Regions from separate parts of the Homo sapiens genome. Here all the other regions are linked to region 6. The links are contacts of gene promoters, found by promoter capture Hi-C in blood cells and fetal thymus (Javierre and others, 2016). All regions are on one chromosome and are shown on one strand. Each heading gives the region's core, a stretch centred on a gene start or on the middle of the fragment in contact. The rest is flanking DNA. Distances are from core to core; before and after follow the strand shown. Region 1 has its middle 28 kb from the start of RYR3-DT. Region 2 has its middle 43 kb from the start of FMN1. Region 3 has its middle 11 kb from the start of RYR3-DT. Region 4 has its middle 25 kb from the start of FMN1. Region 5 has its middle 53 kb from the start of RYR3-DT. Region 6 holds the start of CHRM5 (cholinergic receptor muscarinic 5).

Evidence for each region. The method cuts DNA at HindIII sites, captures the fragments that hold promoters and counts their contacts. A CHiCAGO score of 5 or more calls a contact.
Region 1: a fragment that was not itself captured here is called in contact with the fragment with the promoter of CHRM5 in region 6 in 6 of 17 cell types (erythroblasts, endothelial precursors, megakaryocytes and 3 more); the score reaches 10.1 in erythroblasts.
Region 2: a contact is called between a fragment that was not itself captured here and the fragment with the promoter of CHRM5 in region 6, in 3 of 17 cell types (megakaryocytes, erythroblasts and M0 macrophages). The highest score is 8.8, in megakaryocytes.
Region 3: a fragment that was not itself captured here is called in contact with the fragment with the promoter of CHRM5 in region 6 in 4 of 17 cell types (megakaryocytes, erythroblasts, M0 macrophages and 1 more); the score reaches 9.7 in megakaryocytes.
Region 4: a fragment that was not itself captured here is called in contact with the fragment with the promoter of CHRM5 in region 6 in 3 of 17 cell types (M2 macrophages, megakaryocytes and erythroblasts); the score reaches 8.6 in M2 macrophages.
Region 5: a contact is called between a fragment that was not itself captured here and the fragment with the promoter of CHRM5 in region 6, in 1 of 17 cell types (erythroblasts). The highest score is 5.7, in erythroblasts.

What each region holds. Positions count from the first base shown.
Region 1 is chr15:33,281,608-33,284,484 of GRCh38, reverse strand. No RefSeq gene overlaps it. Among named protein-coding and RNA genes, the nearest start is that of RYR3-DT, 28 kb to the left of the region's middle. The HindIII fragment of the contact is 2,230 bases long and covers 384-2,613 here.
Region 2 is chr15:33,236,788-33,239,581 of GRCh38, reverse strand. It overlaps the pseudogene TMCO5B. Among named protein-coding and RNA genes, the nearest start is that of FMN1, 43 kb to the right of the region's middle. RefSeq lists a silencer at 1,188-1,357. The HindIII fragment of the contact is 6,436 bases long and covers 1-2,794 here.
Region 3 is chr15:33,298,623-33,301,468 of GRCh38, reverse strand. No RefSeq gene overlaps it. Among named protein-coding and RNA genes, the nearest start is that of RYR3-DT, 11 kb to the left of the region's middle. The HindIII fragment of the contact is 953 bases long and covers 886-1,838 here.
Region 4 is chr15:33,218,769-33,221,468 of GRCh38, reverse strand. No RefSeq gene overlaps it. Among named protein-coding and RNA genes, the nearest start is that of FMN1, 25 kb to the right of the region's middle. The HindIII fragment of the contact is 4,772 bases long and covers 1-2,700 here.
Region 5 is chr15:33,256,460-33,259,159 of GRCh38, reverse strand. No RefSeq gene overlaps it. Among named protein-coding and RNA genes, the nearest start is that of RYR3-DT, 53 kb to the left of the region's middle. The HindIII fragment of the contact is 7,151 bases long and covers 1-2,700 here.
Region 6 is chr15:33,967,068-33,969,798 of GRCh38, reverse strand. CHRM5 (cholinergic receptor muscarinic 5) reads right to left here and starts at 1,302. Exons shown (of 3, transcript NM_012125.4): 1 at 649-1,302. All of the region lies in intron 2 of AVEN (apoptosis and caspase activation inhibitor), which reads left to right. The HindIII fragment of the contact is 969 bases long and covers 706-1,674 here.

The DNA of each region.
Region 1 (2,877 bases), core at 249-2,748, 690 kb after region 6:
GTGTGGGAGTGGTTTGTTACACAATATTATAACAACTAAAAAAAAAAAAAAAAAAAGACAGTTCACCAATCTCTTGCCTATTTGGTTTTGGTTTTCAGGTTTTGATTCACCCCTTGAGTCTGAGGCTTATAAAGCCTTCTTTGGAACTGAACTTTGGCTTTTCTGGCCTCTAAGGCCTCCCTTGTAAGCTACTCTTATTCTGCGAATAATATGGTTTCTGGCCACCTTGCCTACAACCATGACCCATCATGGGTATAACCTGCTGCTTACATCCCCACTAATGTTTACAGGCCTGCAAAACAGGAAATAGACATGAGATTTTATATTCTGTATTCAGAGCATAAAGGTCCTCATCTACATGAAATTCAGTTATTCAGAAAGCTTTCCTCTTTAGAACACAACTGAAAAGAAAGAAGGGGAAATGATTGAGAATAGTGAAAATCATGAAGGCCCCCAACGTTGATGCCCATGAACAGAAATGTATTACTCAGAGAAGAGCTCCTCACTCAAAATCAATGTGATTTTATATCATATGCACTTCTAACACACATGATAATATGGTTTGCAAAGCCCACATCTGATTGGAGGAGAAGAGATGGAGTGCTATGGTCAGGAACACCAATATCAGTCAGATGGGAAAGCTGACTTTCTGACAGGAAGAGAGGAGACAAAAGTCTATTATAATGGCACACAATAAAAACAAAAAGCCCAGTGGTAAATATCCCTAATACAATAGGACCTCTCTGTAGTATAATAGATCACAGTAATTGCTGCGACTTTCTTTTTAAATCAGCATTTAGCAATTTGAATATAATTGTCTTATGGGGAAAAAAGCTCTCAAGTTAGTAATATCTAAAAGTCGATGTACAGCTGAGCTTATTAGAAATGCTATTAGTAACATCAGAAATGAAATTCTGCTTAATTGCATGCCCACGAAGTGACAAATGCTACATATTTTATTTCTGGGTTTCAGTTGTGGGGATCAGGATAGGCTGCAGTGTACCTCTGTAAACATTTGTAAAAAAACAAGCAATACTCTGTGGTTTCATTAAGTAAAAGAAACTCTGGGCCGGGTGCGGTGGGTCACGCCTGTAATCCCAGCACCTTAGGAGGTTGAGGCAGGCAGATCACTTGAGGTCAGGAGTTTGAGGCCAGCCTGGCCAACATGGTGAAACCCCGTCTCTACTAAAAATACAAAAATTAGCCGGGCGTGGTGGCGGGTGCCTATAATCCCAGCTACTTGGGAGAATGAGTTAGGAGAATCACTTGAACCCAGGGGGTGGAGGTTGCAGTGAGCCGAAATCGCACGGCTTCACTCCAGCCTGGGCAAAAAAGTGAAACTCCATCTCAAAAAAAAAAAAAAGAAAAGAAAAAGAAAGAAAGAGAAAAGAAACCCTGGGTTATTACCAACTTCCATGACTTTCCATGTGCCATTCCCTCTTTTGTAATAAATCTCCTCACACCTCCAAACCCTGTGGTCTTCACGGGCCAACTGCTTCTCATCCTTCCATTCACATCCTCTGGGAAGCTCTCCCCAACGACTTCCCCCTCCTAGCTGGAGTTATGTATCCCCTAGTACTGCCACAGTGCCCTCTTCCTCTCTCTGCTGCCTACCACATGGCCTGCTACACTCACCTGTCCAGGGGTGGGCACCCTCACTGCCCTCTAACTCCCCAAAGGCAGGTAGCACGTCAGTTGAATGCATCATTGGTCCCTTCGTTCCTGGTAACTAGCCAACTCCCAGTATACATTCGTTAAGTGGATAATGTTCCCATCCAGGTAGCTTTCCACATGAGGGAATCTGCATTACAACTGTGGCAGCAAGAAGAAAATACTCTAACAGAAGGAACACTGAGCTACACTAGGCCAGAGGGTTGGTAGCTTTTGAGGGTGAAATTCAAGTTTTTGTCCAAATTCCAGTGTGCAGCTCTATTCTATTCCAAGGCCACAGATTTCACTGCAGGCTTAACAAAGGCGTCCTTCTCACTCATGTCACTGGTCACAGGAGGACTCTTCACATATACTTGTGCTTCCCATCTAGTGCTAGAGGCAACAGGGTGAGACTGGGCAGAAAGGGGCCTGTGGGCCCACAGAATTTACAACCCTAGAGGGATTAAAAAAAATGCTCCTTCAAAGAAAGCCTTGTGAAGAGGAATTCTCTTTCAGACTGTGATCAAAAGACATTTTTTGAGCAATCAAAATGAACCATTGCTCTATACAACCACTGAGCTTATAACCATTGTTAATGACAGGTCAGTGGCTCCAATTTCATATAAAAGGTCAGAAAATTTGAGATGAGAAGTATCTGGTATAACTGTCTGTTAGACTGGGAACTAGGAGCCTACAGATCTGGGTTCTAGTCTGGTTTTTTCACTAATTATTTGGCAGACTACAAGTCATAGAATCTGCCTGGGTCGCTGTTTTCTCACCTGCAAGCAAGAGAGGTGAGTAAGAGGGTCTCTAATCTTCTATCATCAGCCAGCTTCAGTCAAGCTGGTAAGGGAAAATTGAAACCTACAACTAGATTGAGCAAGGGCAACTGCAGCTCATAGGAGACAACTCGGTACTGTCAATCCAGATAAGGAGGCAGATAACTTTTTGGCACAATAAGCTTCCAAAGCTAGGTGAAAGATTAGCTCTTACACTGAGAGATGTTTCTTTTTTCACTTAAAAAATAAAAAAGGGAGGCCAGGCATGGTGGCTCACGACTGCAATCCCAGCACTTTGGGAGGCCAAGGCAGGCAGATCATTTGAGGTCTGGCATTCAAGACCAGCCTGGCCAACATGGTGAAACCCCACCTCTAACAAAAAAAAAAATACAAAAATTAGCCTGGCATGGTGGCGTGCCCCTGTAGTCCCAGCTACCGAGGAGGCTGA
Region 2 (2,794 bases), core at 24-2,523, 730 kb after region 6:
TTCCTTATTTTTTTCATAAGATCCTTTGTCAAATGTGTGTATTATAGTCTATTCTGAGGCTTTCCTTTTTTACTTTCTTAATGACATTTTGGATAAACAATAGTTATTAATTTAGAAAAAAATCTAATCTGTGAAATGTGTCAATCCATTCTTTTTTGCTTTCTGCCTTTTAGAGGTCATAAAACTACTCTCTGTGGTTTCCCCTAGAATTTTTTATCATTTACCTTTTACTCAGGTTTACATTCTTTTGGAATTTATTTTCTTTTCTGTGGTGTGAGGTAGAGATTAAAATTTGTGGGGTTTTTTTTCCATATGGATATCCAATTGATCCAGCACAATTTATTGAAGATACTATTCATTTGCAGTGGTGTCTTATTTTATGTCTGGTGACCATATATGTGTGAGTGTTTCTGGATGCTTTATTCTGTACAATTAGTCTCTGTTCCTATCCTTGTGCCAAAACTACACTAATTATTATAGCTTTATAATTAGTATTGATATGGTAGCTTAAATTCTGCACGATTATCTTGGCTTTCTTGGCCCCTTGAATTTCTATATAAATTTTAAAATCGGTTTTTCAACTTCTACCAAAACAAAAACAAAAAACCTTGCTGAGATGTTGATTGGAGTTACATGGAATCTATAGATAAAGTGAGAGGATAATTAGTATCTAAACAATAATTTTCCATGGCCAGGTGCTGTGGCTCATGCCTGTAATGTCAGTGTTTTGGGAGACTGTGGGGCGGGGGAGGTTCTATTGAGGCCAGGAGATCGAGACTAGCCTGGGCAACATAGCAAGACTCTATCTCTACAAAAAATAAAACAAATTATCTGGGCATGGTTGTGTGTGCCTATAGTCCTAGCTACTCAGGAGGCTGAGGCAGGAGGATGGTTTGAGCCCAGGAGGTTGAGGTAAAAGTGAGATATATTGCACCACTGTATTCCAGCCTGGACCACCGAGTGAGATGCTATCTCAAAAAGAATAATAAAAATAAACAATAGTTTCACACACCATGATATCTTTATCCCTTCGTTTATTTAGATATTTAATTTCTCAAAATAACGTTTTACAGTTTTCTGTGTGGTGTTCTTATACACTTTCCATCAGATTTATTCCTAGGTATTTAATATTTTTAATGCAACTGTGAATGCTGTGTTAATTTGATTTTCTTTTTTTATTAATATTAAAAATAAAATAGAGACGGTGGCCAGGTGTGGTGGCTCATGCCTGGAATCCCAGCACTTTGGGAAGCTGAGGCAGGTGGATTACCTGAGGTCAGGAGTTCGAGACCAGCCTGACTAACATGGTGAAACTCTGTCTCTACTAAAAATAAAAAAATAAAAAAAATAAAAAAGCCAGGTGTGGTGGCACATGCCTGTAGTCCCAGCTACTTGGGAGGCTGAGGCAGGAGAATTGCTTGAACCCGGGAGGAGGAGGTTATGCCACTGTACTCCAGCCTGGGTGACAGAGCGAAACTCCATCTCAAAAAATAAAAATAAAATAATAAAATAAAATAGAGACAGGGTCCCACTATGTTGCCCAGGCTGGTCTCAAACTCCTGGGCTTAAGCGATCCTCCCACCTTGGCCTCCCAAAGTGCTAGGATTGCAGGTGTGAGCCAACATGCCAGCCTTGATTTTTTAATTGATTACTGTTAGTGCATAGAAATACAATTGGTTTCTATATATTGAACTTGTATCATTAATCTCACTAAATTCACCTATTCTAAAAATTTCTTTTAGCTTCTCAACTATAAATAATAACAATTGTACTTTTTCCTTTTCAGTCTTTATCTTTTTATTTCTTTTTCTTGCTTTATTGAATTATTTGCAAGCATTTGCAGGCATTATTTGCTGGTATTATTTACAGGCATTTCCATTAATGGACTCAATCCTATTGCATAAAATGAAACTTAGGATAACAAAACAAAATAAAACAAATGAACAAACAATGAACAGAAGGTATTGGCGAGTGAATAAAAGCAAGCAGATTCTGGAAGGGATCTGGCACTTGGAAAAAGAGAATGATGGGCATTATTTCCCCTATTTTTATAGTTTCTAGCCTGAAGAAAGACCAAACTGGGTGTGTAAGATGCACCAGCAGAGAAAACCTATAGTCTTTTTGGACTAACAAAATAGAGAATAAAGAGTTTGAGGCAGCCAAAGATACTGGGGAAAAAGTAGAGAGTCAGACATGGGGAGTTCCTAAATCTGTGTCTAAACTATACCTGAATCTCTGACTGGACTTCCAAACCATGCATGCTCAGGGCAATGTGTGAGCAGCCCAGCTGAGGACATAAGACCACAACTGAAACTTGAGCTGCCACCAAGACACAAACTGCAGTTTGAATCCAACATCAGGGTTATATCCAGCTTAGTTTTCATTGATTGTCTTCTTTTAAAAATGAATCACATTTTCCTGGTTCTTTATAAGTTTAGCAATTATGGATTTTAAATGTTGAGCATTGTGAATGTTAGTAAGAGTCTAGGATATGAATCGTAGATACCGCGTAACTTAGGAAAGCACCTTTCATCAGCCTCTCAGATTATGTTACCTAATTCTTGGCTCTGATCTCTTACCTAGATCCAAAGCCCAGGATGACTCCTCTCAAACAGTGAAACCGGGATCAATTTTGGCAGACACCACCCAAAGAAACATGGCCAGTTTTTCCTATTCCAAACCTGGGTTTTCCTCTATCCCTTCCCTCTCCTAGCTTCTCTCTCTCTCTCTCTCTCTCTCTCTCTCTCTCTCTCTCTCTCTCTCTCCCTCCTCTTTAATAATCCTATAATTAGGA
Region 3 (2,846 bases), core at 113-2,612, 670 kb after region 6:
CTCCAAAAGCAGACCCTGATTTCGGAGATGATCCCAGAAAGTACCAGTAAGAGTGAGAAAGTGAGACAGGAAAGGGAAGGAAGCCAGTAAGGAGCAAGTTATCAAGCAGGTTACCACTGTGCATGAGGAGCCCAGTCTCACTGGGGAACTCTGGGAACTAGTGAGGAACATGCACTTCAGAGTCACCCTCAGAAAAACAAGGAAGCTGGGGTATTTACACGCTAACTCCGGTCAGTCACTGGGTGAAGGCTGCTCCCAGGGTGTTAATTCTCTGGCACCTTCAGCCTGCTCCAGCTGCCAGAGAAAGCCCTTGGGCAGTTGGAAATTGGGCTGCCAAATACCCAACAATGGGAGGAAACCCAATGTTCAATAAATATGCCATCGTCATCATCACCACTGACAACCAAAGGCAAAACCTATGAAAACAGGCTATTCCGGCTGAAGCTGCAGGGAGAGATGTGGATGGGGGTCCCAGGATTTGGCACTGGGTGCCCAGTGATCTCATAGTAGGTGAGGTACCTGACTCAGCTCTACAGAACCCTAGGGATTCGCAGACCAATTTGGGGAGCACAGTTCTTAGCATTTGTGAATACTGGGAGTGATTCAAAGAACATAAAAATGGTATATTTAACACACCTGTTATAAGGAAAGGAAGCTTCAGGTAATGAGTATACTATCACTGGCAGTGATTCAAATAAGATAAAAATCTACCTCTCTCAAGGAACTGCAGCTTAGTTTCAAAGACAAAATATGAACATAGTACAGTAAAGTAAGCAGCAATGCAAGTTGAGTGTCCAGGGAGTGGAGTAGAAGTTGAGTGTCCAGGGAGACTACCACTGGCTGAGGTGGTCAGAAGGAGCTCCCATGAGTAAACAAGATTAAGCTTAGCCCTATGGGATGATTTCTTTTTAGGCTCGCAGAACAGAGGCAAAGATACAATGATTGGGCCCGAGAGCTCCCCTGATTGAGATGCTGGTTGTCATGTGGAAGGCCTGGGGCCGGGACTGCTGCTTCATGCAACCCCTCAGTTATGCTGGACTAGGCAAAGTGCTTTACTGAGTGGCAATGCCGTTCTTCAAAAATCATCACTTCCAGAGGTAGATCCAGCTTTCATCCTCTCTCTATCCCTGCCCTGCCCTTCCATGTTAAATATTCTCTCTCATGTCATGATAATAGCTATCAACAACCCTGTGAAGTAGGCATTTTTACTGCCATTTTACAGATGAGGAGACTGAGAGTAAGGGTTAAGAAATCTCCCTAAGGGTTCTCGGCCAGGCGCGGTGGCTCACGCCTGTAATCTCAGCACTTTGGGAGGCTGAGGCGGGCGGATCACGAGGTCAGGAGATCGAGACCATCCTGGCTAACACGGTGAAACCCCATCTCTACTAAAACTACAAAAAATTAGCCGGGCGTGGTGGCAGGCACCTGTAGTCCCAGCTACTCGGGAGGCTAAGGCAGGAGAATGGTGTGAACCCGGGAGGCGGAGCTTGCAGTGGGCCGAGGTTGCACCACTGCACTCCAGCCTGGGCGACAGAGCGAGACTCTGTCTCAAAAAACAAACAAACAAAAAAGAAATCTCCCTAAGGGTTCTCAGCTAAACTGGGATTTAAACCCTAGTCTATCTAATTTTAAAGCCAAACCAAATCACTATGCTTTAATGTCTCCAGTTCAAGCAGAGAAGAAAAAAACACTCTTTTAATTACTTTAGATTTGAGATAGTCAAATTAGATCCTACAGATTGATCCAAAGCACTTGTATTTAGAGGTTGATTATTCTTCCTCATTATCAACACAGCTATGGATACTACTTCTAAGGCTACACAGCAACTGCTGCAAGCTTATGGAGAGCAGTTTGGGAAGGGACAAATGAGAATAGATTGAAATCCACTTGAGTGACGGCTTCCCTGCCTTGGTCAACAGACGGTACATTTATGGCATTCTTGGATCTCTAGAAGTAGAAGAATTCCTTGAACTCTGAGTTCAGGCCCATTTCTGCCAAATTGCAAGGCTTATTTAGCTATTACTTAACATTCCATCTGTTACCTTTTGGCAGGTTTTTAAAAAATCAAATATACTCATTACCTGAAGCTTCCTCTCGTCATAACAGATGTGTTAATGATATCATTGAGGCATTCATTCATTCATTCATTCATTCCTAAAAAGACAGCTTAGAAAGTAGAGAGGGTAAGCCGGGCGCGGTGGCTCACGCCTGTAGTCCCAGCACTTTGGGAGGCAGAGGCGGGCGGATCACGAGGTCAAGAGATCGAGACCATCCTGGCTAACATGGTGAAACCCCGTCTCTACTAAAAATACAAAAAATTAGCCAGGTGTGGTGGCGGGCGCCTGTAGTCCCAGCTACTCGGGATGCTGAGGCAGGAGAATGGCGTGAACCCCGGAGGCGGAGCTTGCAGTGAGCCAAGATCGCGCCACTGCACTCCTGCCTGGGCGACAGAGGGAGACTCCGTCTCAAAAAAGAAAGAAAGAAAGAAAAGTAGAGAGGGTGAAATATTAGCCTTGATGTACAGTTAAGGGAAGAGACATGACCAATAATGACCCTTCAGTTTGGTCTGACACCTCCATTCCCTGCAGCCCAGTCAGAATCCCTTGAGGCAAAAGCACTGCAAGATTCTGGAGTAGATCAATGACAGGGCAGGTGCAGTCTCTGCTCAGCATTCCATTTAAGTGATTCCTCGCCAGTCTCTGAGGCCAGACGTCCTGTCTATTTTTTTTAGTAGGTAACTCCCTGACCAGGCACTGAAAATCCTTGGGTAAAAATCACAAAGTGATAAAAAGAACAAATGGGAAAAGATATCTGTGGAAGATATTTTCCAAATACTTTGGAAATCT
Region 4 (2,700 bases), core at 9-2,508, 750 kb after region 6:
CATAAACTTTCCTCTTAACACTGCTTTCACTGTATCCCAGAGAATCCCAGAGGTATGTTGTGTCTCTCTTTTCACTTACTTCAAACTTTTTTCTTTTTTTTAAATTATTATTATACATTAAGTTCTAGGGTACATGTGTACAATGTGTAGGTTTGTTACATATGTATACATGTGCTATGTTGGTGTGCTACACCCATTAACTCATCATTTACATTAGGTATATCTCCTAATGCTATCCCTACCCCCTACCCCCACCCCACAACAGGCCCTGGTGTGTGATGTTCCCCTTCCTGTGTCCACGTGTTCTCATTATTCAATTCCCACCTATGAGTGAGAGCATGCGGTGTTTGGTTTTCTGTCCTTGTGACAGTTTGCTCAGAATGGTTTCCAGCTTCATCCATGTCCCTACAAAGGACATGAACTCATCCTTTTTTATGGCTGCATAGTATTCCATGGTGTGTATGTGCCACATTTGCTTAATCCAGTCTATCATTGATGGACATTTGGGTTGGTTCCAAGTCTTTGCTATCGTGAATAGTGCCACAATAAACATATATGTGCATGTGTCTTTATAGCAGCATGATTTATAATCCTTTGGGTATATACCCAGTAATGGGATGGCTGGGTCAAATGGTATTTCTAGTTCTAGATCCTTGAGGAATCGCCACACTGTCTTCCACAATGGTTGAAGTAGTTTACGGTCCCTCCAACAGTGTAAAAGTGTTCCTATTTCTTCACATCCTCTCCAGCACCTGTTGTTTCCTGACTTTTTAATGATCGCCATTCTAACTGGCATGAGATGGTATCTCATTGTGGTTTTGATTTGCATTTCTCTGATGGCCAGTGATGATGAGCATTTTTTCATGTGTCTGTTGGCTGCATAAATGTCTTCTTTTGAGAAGTGTCTGTTCATCTCCTTTGCCCACTTTTTGATGGGGTAGTTTGATTTTTTCTTGTAAATTTGTTTAAGTTCTTTGTAGATTCTGGATATTAGCCCTTTGTCAGATGGGTAGATTGCAAAAATTTTCTCCCATTCTGTAGGTTGCCTGTTCACTCTGATGGTAGTTTCTTTTGCTGTGCAGAAGCTCTTTAGCTTAACTAGATCCCATTTGTCTATTTTGGCTTTTGTTGCCATTGCTTTTGGTGTTTTAGCCATGAAGTCCTTGCCCATGCCTATGTCCTGAATGGTATTGCCTAGGTTTTCTTCTGGGGTTTTTATGGTTTTAGGTCTGACATTTAAGTCTTTAATCCATCTTGAATTAATTTCTGTATAAAATTTCTGCCTTAATTTTTTTGTTTACCCAAAAGTTATTCAGAAGCAAGTTGTTTAGTTTCCATGTACTTGAGTGGTCTGAGAGTTCCTTTTTTTGTTTGTTTGTTTTTCAGACGGAGTTTCGCTCTTGTTGCCCAGGCTGGAGTGCAATGGCGCGATCTCAGCTCACCACAATCTCCGCCTCCCGGGTTCCAGTGATTCTCCTGTCTCAGCCTTCCAGGTAGCTGGGATTACAGGCATGCACCACCATGCCTGGCTAATGTTTGGATTTTTCATAGAGACGGATTTCTCCAGCTTGGTCAGACTGGTTTCAAACTCCCGACCTCAGGTGATCCGCCTGCCTCGGCCTCCCAAAGTGCTGGGATTACAGGTGTGAGCCACCACACCCAGCCGAGAGTTCCTCTTATTGATTTCCAATTTTATACCACTGTGGTCTGAGAAGATGCTTGACATGATTTTGGTTGTTTTTAATTTATTGAGATTTGCTTTATGACTCAGCATGTGGTCAATTTTAGAGAATGTTCCACGTGCAAATGAGAAAAATGTGCATTCTGTGGTTATTGAGTGTAGTATTCTGTAGATGTCTATTAAGTCCATTTGGTCAGGAGCCCAATTTAAGTCCAGAATTTCTTTGTTAGTTTTTTGCCTCAATGATCTGTCTACTGCTGTCAGTGGTGTGTTACAGTCCTCCACTACTATTGCATGACCGTCTATCCCCTTTCTTAGGTCTAGTAGTATTTGTTTTATAAATTTGACTGCTCTGATGTTGGGTGCAATTTTTTTTTTTTTTTTTTTGAGACAGAGTCTCGCTCTGTAGCCCAGGCTGGAGTACAGTGGGGTGATCTCAGCTAACTGCAACCTCCGCCTCCCAGGTTCAAGCAATTCTCCTGCCTCAGGCCTCCCAAGTAGATGGGACTACAGGTGCACACAATCACGCCCAACTAATTTTTGTATTTTTAGTAGAGATGAGGTTTCACCATGTTGGCCAGGCTGGTCTTGAACTCCTGACCTCAAGTGATCTACCTGCCTTGGCCTCTAAAAGTGCTGGGATTACAGGCATGAGTCACTGCACCCAGCCGGGTGCATTCATATTTAGGATAGTTAAATTTATTGTTGAATTGAACCATTTATCATTATAAGATGGCCTTCTTTGTCTGTTTTTTTTTTTTTTTTTTTTTTTGAGATGGAGTCTTGCTCTGTCACCCAGGCTGGAGTGCAGTGGCACGATCTTGGCTCACTGCAAGCTCTGCCTCTTGGGTTCATGACATTCTCCTGCCTCAGCCTCCTGAGTAGCTGGGACTACAGGCACCTGCCACCACGGCCGGCTAATATTTTTGTATTTTTAGTAGAGACGGGGTTTCACTGTGTTAGCCAGGATGGCCTCAATCTCCTGACCTCGTGATCCGCCCGCCTTGGCCTCCCAAAGT
Region 5 (2,700 bases), core at 37-2,536, 710 kb after region 6:
CCCTCTTTGAGTAATCTCACACTAATGTAGTTTTTTCTCAAGTTGTCTCTTAGCTAAGATAGTCTTCATTCCATTTGCCCCTTATAATCAAGATTATATTTTTTCCAAATCCTTGACAAACTAATTTCACCAAAAGCTGGAATATCCTTTTGAGTCTTAATTTATCTTAAAATAGAAATGGCAATTTTAAAAAAAAAAAAAGCATAGAGAAGCATTTTAACCTATTTAGGTTAACAAGATTGCATTAAAAGAGTATTTTTCTTTTATACTGAGGCTTAGAAATGGTAATTTACCTAACTTCTTTTATTTTTATGAAAAGTCTTTCATCACTGTTCTGGTTTCCCTCCTAGTCAGTAGAAATGTAGAGGAAATACATTAATTAAATTCTCTAATAAGATTCTGTAGCTATTGGCCCTAAACTCTAGGGAAACCATAAGTCCCTAATTACAACATATCAGTTTCAATTAACTCTTCAAATTATTCCCGAGGTGTACCTGAGAAAATGAAAGAGTTGCTAATAAATTTTAGAAAAGATTGACAGCTCTTTCTATGGCTGTCAGGGGGCCTCTGTGGACCTATGGGAGAAAACCCTAACCTACATTTGGGAAATTTCTCATATGGTAGCTTTTATTTTCCTGGGACAGTTTCTGGACTTAGGTTTTTTGTGTACTGACTTTTGTGGAGTTGGATTGATCTTGGGCATGATGGCTGTGACTGCTTTTGTTGATTTTAGGTCTGTATCAGAGAAGTTCCTGCTGAATGTTTCACATTTTCAAGCCCCAGTTTCAACTAGCTAGAGTTAGGCACTCAGGTTGAGAGCACAGCAGGGCTGGAAGACTGTCACTACAAGTGAGAGAAGCAAGACCAAGACGAGATGTCATCTTCAGTGTGAAGGACTAGCATGGAGGGCAGGAGGTTGAAGGACTCGTCCAGCAAAGCTCTCTAGCCAGTGCTTTGGGCCTGGGATGACAGTCAGGCTTTTTAAGATAGGACCTTTTAGGCATGGCTGCTGTTTCTTGCTTATGAGGTCCAGGAGATGTAAAGAGTCCTGTCTAACTTATTCTGGTCAGGTTCCTTCACTGTACAGTTGTAGTAACTTCAAACTGGAAACTCTTTTTTTTTTTTTTGAGACGGAGTCTCGCTCTGTCGTCCAGGCTGGAGTGCAGTGGCGCCATCTCGGCTCACTGCAAGCTCCGCCTCCCGGGTTCATGCCATTCTCGTGCCTCAGCCTCCCCAGCAGCTGGGACTACAGACGCCCGCCACCATGCCTGGCTAATTTTTGTATTTTTAGTAGAGACGGCGTTTCACCATGTTAGCCAGGATGGTCTCGATCTCCTGACTTTGTGATCCGCCCACCTTGGCCTCCCAAAGTGCTGGGATTACAGGCGTGAGCCACCACGCCCAGCCTGGGAACTCTTTTTAAAAGAAAAAAAAATCTGAAAGAATTTTGAACACTTTGCTCCTGGTTCCTTGCCTCTTCCGCATGTGACACTTAAGGGTTAGGCAGCCTGCTGCTTATCTGCAAGCTATATAACAACAAACCACACGCAAAACTTAGAGGCTTAAACCAAGTACAAACTTTTTCTCCCCACAAACCTACAATTTGGGATGGCTTTGTGGGAACAACTACTATTTTGCTTATAAAGTATTAGCTGGAGCTCTTAGACTGGAGGACCTACCTTCAAGATTTCTCACTCACATAGCTGGGAAGTTGGTACTGGCTATTGCCAGAATGCTTTTTCAGACCCAAGTCTTGATTCCTTTCCATGAGCTACTTGGGCACCCTCAAAGCATGAGTTCCAAGAGAACCAGGCCTCCTTGTATCTGGACACTGGAAGCAAAAGGGCCACATTTTGTGCCACTCACAGAATCTACAAAGCCCTCTCTTCTCCAGAATGCTAACCATTATGAATTTTGTGATAATTATGCCCTTTCTTTTTTTTTGTAAGTTTATCACCTACAAAACTACCCTAAAACAAGGGTTCCTAGCCCCTGGCTGCAGACCAGTGCAGGTCCATAGCCTGTTAGGAACCAGGCTGCACAGCAGGAGGTGAGCGGCTGGAGCGAGCTTTACCGCTTAAGCGAGCTTTACCGCTTGAGCTCCGGCTCCTGTCAGATCAGCGGTGGCATTAGATTCTCATAAGAGTGCAAACCCTACTGTGAACTGCGCATGCGAGGGATCTAGGTTGCACCCTCCTTATTAGAATCTAATGCATGATGATCTGAGGTAGAGCAGTTTCCTCCTGAAACCATTCCCCCACCCTTGCACCCCGTGGAAAAATTGTCTTCCATGAAACCGGTCCCTGGTGCCAAAAAGGTTGGGGACCACTGCACTAAAACATTTTGTTTACTCTATTTTGTACTTTGTATGTCTTGAATTAGAATATGTACATTCTTCTGTGATCTACCTCTTTTGATCAACATTATGATTGAGAGATTCCTGTATGTTATTGACTACGATTATAAATTATTTCTTCTATTGTGTGTCTGTTATTTCTCCATTCTACTGTTTATGGACATTTGGGTTGCTTCCCGTGTTTTGCTATTACTAACAATGCAGAGCAAAAATTATTGTACACTCTCTTCTGGGGTATAAGTGCAAGAGTATTTTCAGGGTACTTTGTATAGAGAGATTGATGTCTTGTAGGACAGGTACAAGTTCTATTTTGCTATTTACAAATTTACAAAAGTGCTTTTGCA
Region 6 (2,731 bases), core at 53-2,552:
GTACCAGACATCTTTCATCTTTTTATCCTCTTGTTGAATCAGAAAAATGTCTTCATTTAGTCTGTTATAAAAATGTCTAGTATCTTTAGGATAAATTAGCCCTATCCTACAAGAGTGTTATACCTCGATTTAGTAGAGATTATTTTTCTTTAGTATGAATGAAATGACATCACAGCTTTTTTTTCTTAGTAACAATAGAAATCAGTCATTGAGCTTTTGTTCCTTTATATGAATAAAAATATTTAAAATGCTTATTAATTTTTCTTTGTTTTATCAAGTACTCTGGGAAACTAAGTTCATTTGAATATTGTTGGTAAACATTATCTGTGAATGGCTCTTATGCACCATTCAGGGCTCTCTTCATGCATTTTTTTCAAGCTATTAAATAAAACAAAATTGGGATAAAAATAAAGACAAAGATGAGACAAATTCAATGAAAAATGAATGGGAGTTTTGGATGCTTTATTATCTAGTTCTGAGTGACTTGTTTATGCAGCATAAGTAAAAACAAGCGTTTACCTCAGCTTAAATCTGCAAAAGCTTAAGGAAGGGTTGCAAGAAATTCAAATCCACTATCTCATTCACAGCACGAGCAGATTTAATTTCAGTAGACAAGATATAAATTAAGGTTATAAAATTAAATCTTACCTGGCAGTGGTTTGTTTGAAGCTCAGTAATTTGAACTCTGGCTGGAAATAGTAAGCTTCGAGACCCAAAATGCCTTCTCTACTTTCCTTTCATGTTTTATTTTGCCAGTGTTTTATTTCTTGCAGTGTCTTTATATCTGTATTCCTGATAATCCTGTAGCATTAGTTAGGATAGTATGCGGTAGATGAAGACTCCATTTGGATAGGATTATAGAACCAGAAGGGTGAGTTTTGCCTTTATCTGGTAACAGCAGTTGATCTGATCACAAACAATCTGAGTGTTGAGAACTTATTAAAGATTCATTGAATGCTTCAGCAATGAGAAATCCTGGTTGTTCCTATATGCATTTGACCCCCTGGAAAAGTTCTGCTTGTTCGTATTTCAGAATTACACACGCTTCCAAATCAAGCTGCTTTAAAAAACATTATCTGGACTAGAAGCATGGATGTTCTTGCACTCTTGCTTTCCTTTCTCCATACGAACTTTTCAGTCCATCAGCTTCCTTTCTGTAGAAGATGAAGGCATTTCTTCTGTCCTCCTCATGCTTTTGTAACCCATGCTTCTGGTACCCTGTTTTTTGAATAGTGAGGTAAAAATCCAGAAGGAAGTACGGCTTTATCATGTCTCTGGACGGTGAGCGTACTTGGCATGAATGAAGAGCTGATAGGAGCTATTCAAACCAGACAGCAAACTGATGGGATGACGCTGCCATACATAAAAAACTCATTAATTACTTCCCCTGCTGGACAGCAGTATATCCTGAAAGGAAGAAAGAAAGGAGCAGATGATGATATTCGTTTTGATAGGTGTTCTCTGTTTGAACAGCTTGTCATTGAGAAGAGAATCCAGGAAAAGCTGCAGCTTCAGAGTGTGATCAGGTAGAATGGGCAAGAGTTATTTGACAGACAGTTAAGTGACGTATTTTGGGAGGAAAAAGAGGGCTTAGCATGGAGGTAGCTGGAATAAGGTTCCAAAATGCTTTTGAAAATGTTCATTTTTTCCTGTTAGTCTTTTTGGCTAGAAGCTTTTTTTTTTTTTTTTTTTTTTTTTTAAGCTTTGCTAGGCATTATTCACAGACATGTTGCTGAGTTATTTTCTCATATGGTTTTCCCTAAAGATGGAAAATAATTTTTAAAAGTCTTTGAGATAGAAAGAGTATACTGTGAGTTTTAAATATTTGTAGCAGAGAAAAGGCTGCCTTTTTTTTTTTTCCTAAATGTATGCCTGTTTTTATACATCTTTTGGGCATATGCGTTTTGTTGCTTTGGAGTAAAGCATTATAAGTCCTCATTTGATACAAACTTTTAACAGGGTCTTCATTAAAGCTTTTCCTTAAGTTAGATGAAATCCATATTAGCTGTATAAAAGAATAGATTTTTAAATGTCAATTTCATAATTTTTGCACTTCAGTTTTTAAATTTAAAATTCAAATTTTTAAAACTGCACTTCAGTTTAAAATTTAAATTTTAAATTTAAACGTTTTTTCCCTGCCTGAGTTCTTTATGAGTGTATCTAGACAATATAATGTTTTTAAATTTTAAAAAATTATTATGGAACATTTCAAACTTACACAAAACTCTGAAAAATAATACAAAAATAATACATGAACCTCCAGAAACTCATTACCAAGATTCAACAATTGTCAGATTCAATTCTTTGCTAAAATATTTTAAAGCAAATCTCATTTCACCTATTTGTACTTTAGTATGTATATTTTTAAAGTATGGACACTTTTTCACATGACCCTGTGCCATTATCACACCTAACACATTGGCTATAATCCTCTGGAGTCATATAATATCCAGTTCATTTTAAATTCCTTGTGTCTCAGAAACTATGTCTTTATGTAGGTTTTTTCTGAGTGAGAATCCAGACAAAGTATACACTTTAATTGTTAGCCAATAGAATTTTAAACACTGACAGATGAACATGTATGAGAAAGAAGTGAATTTTAGTTTTATAGTGGTCTTTGACACACATTTGTAATAGGAATATTTATGCAAGAGAACATATCTTTAGAATATTTTCTTGAACTTTTCCCACTTAACATTGCATGATACTGAAAAGGATTGTAATTTCATAT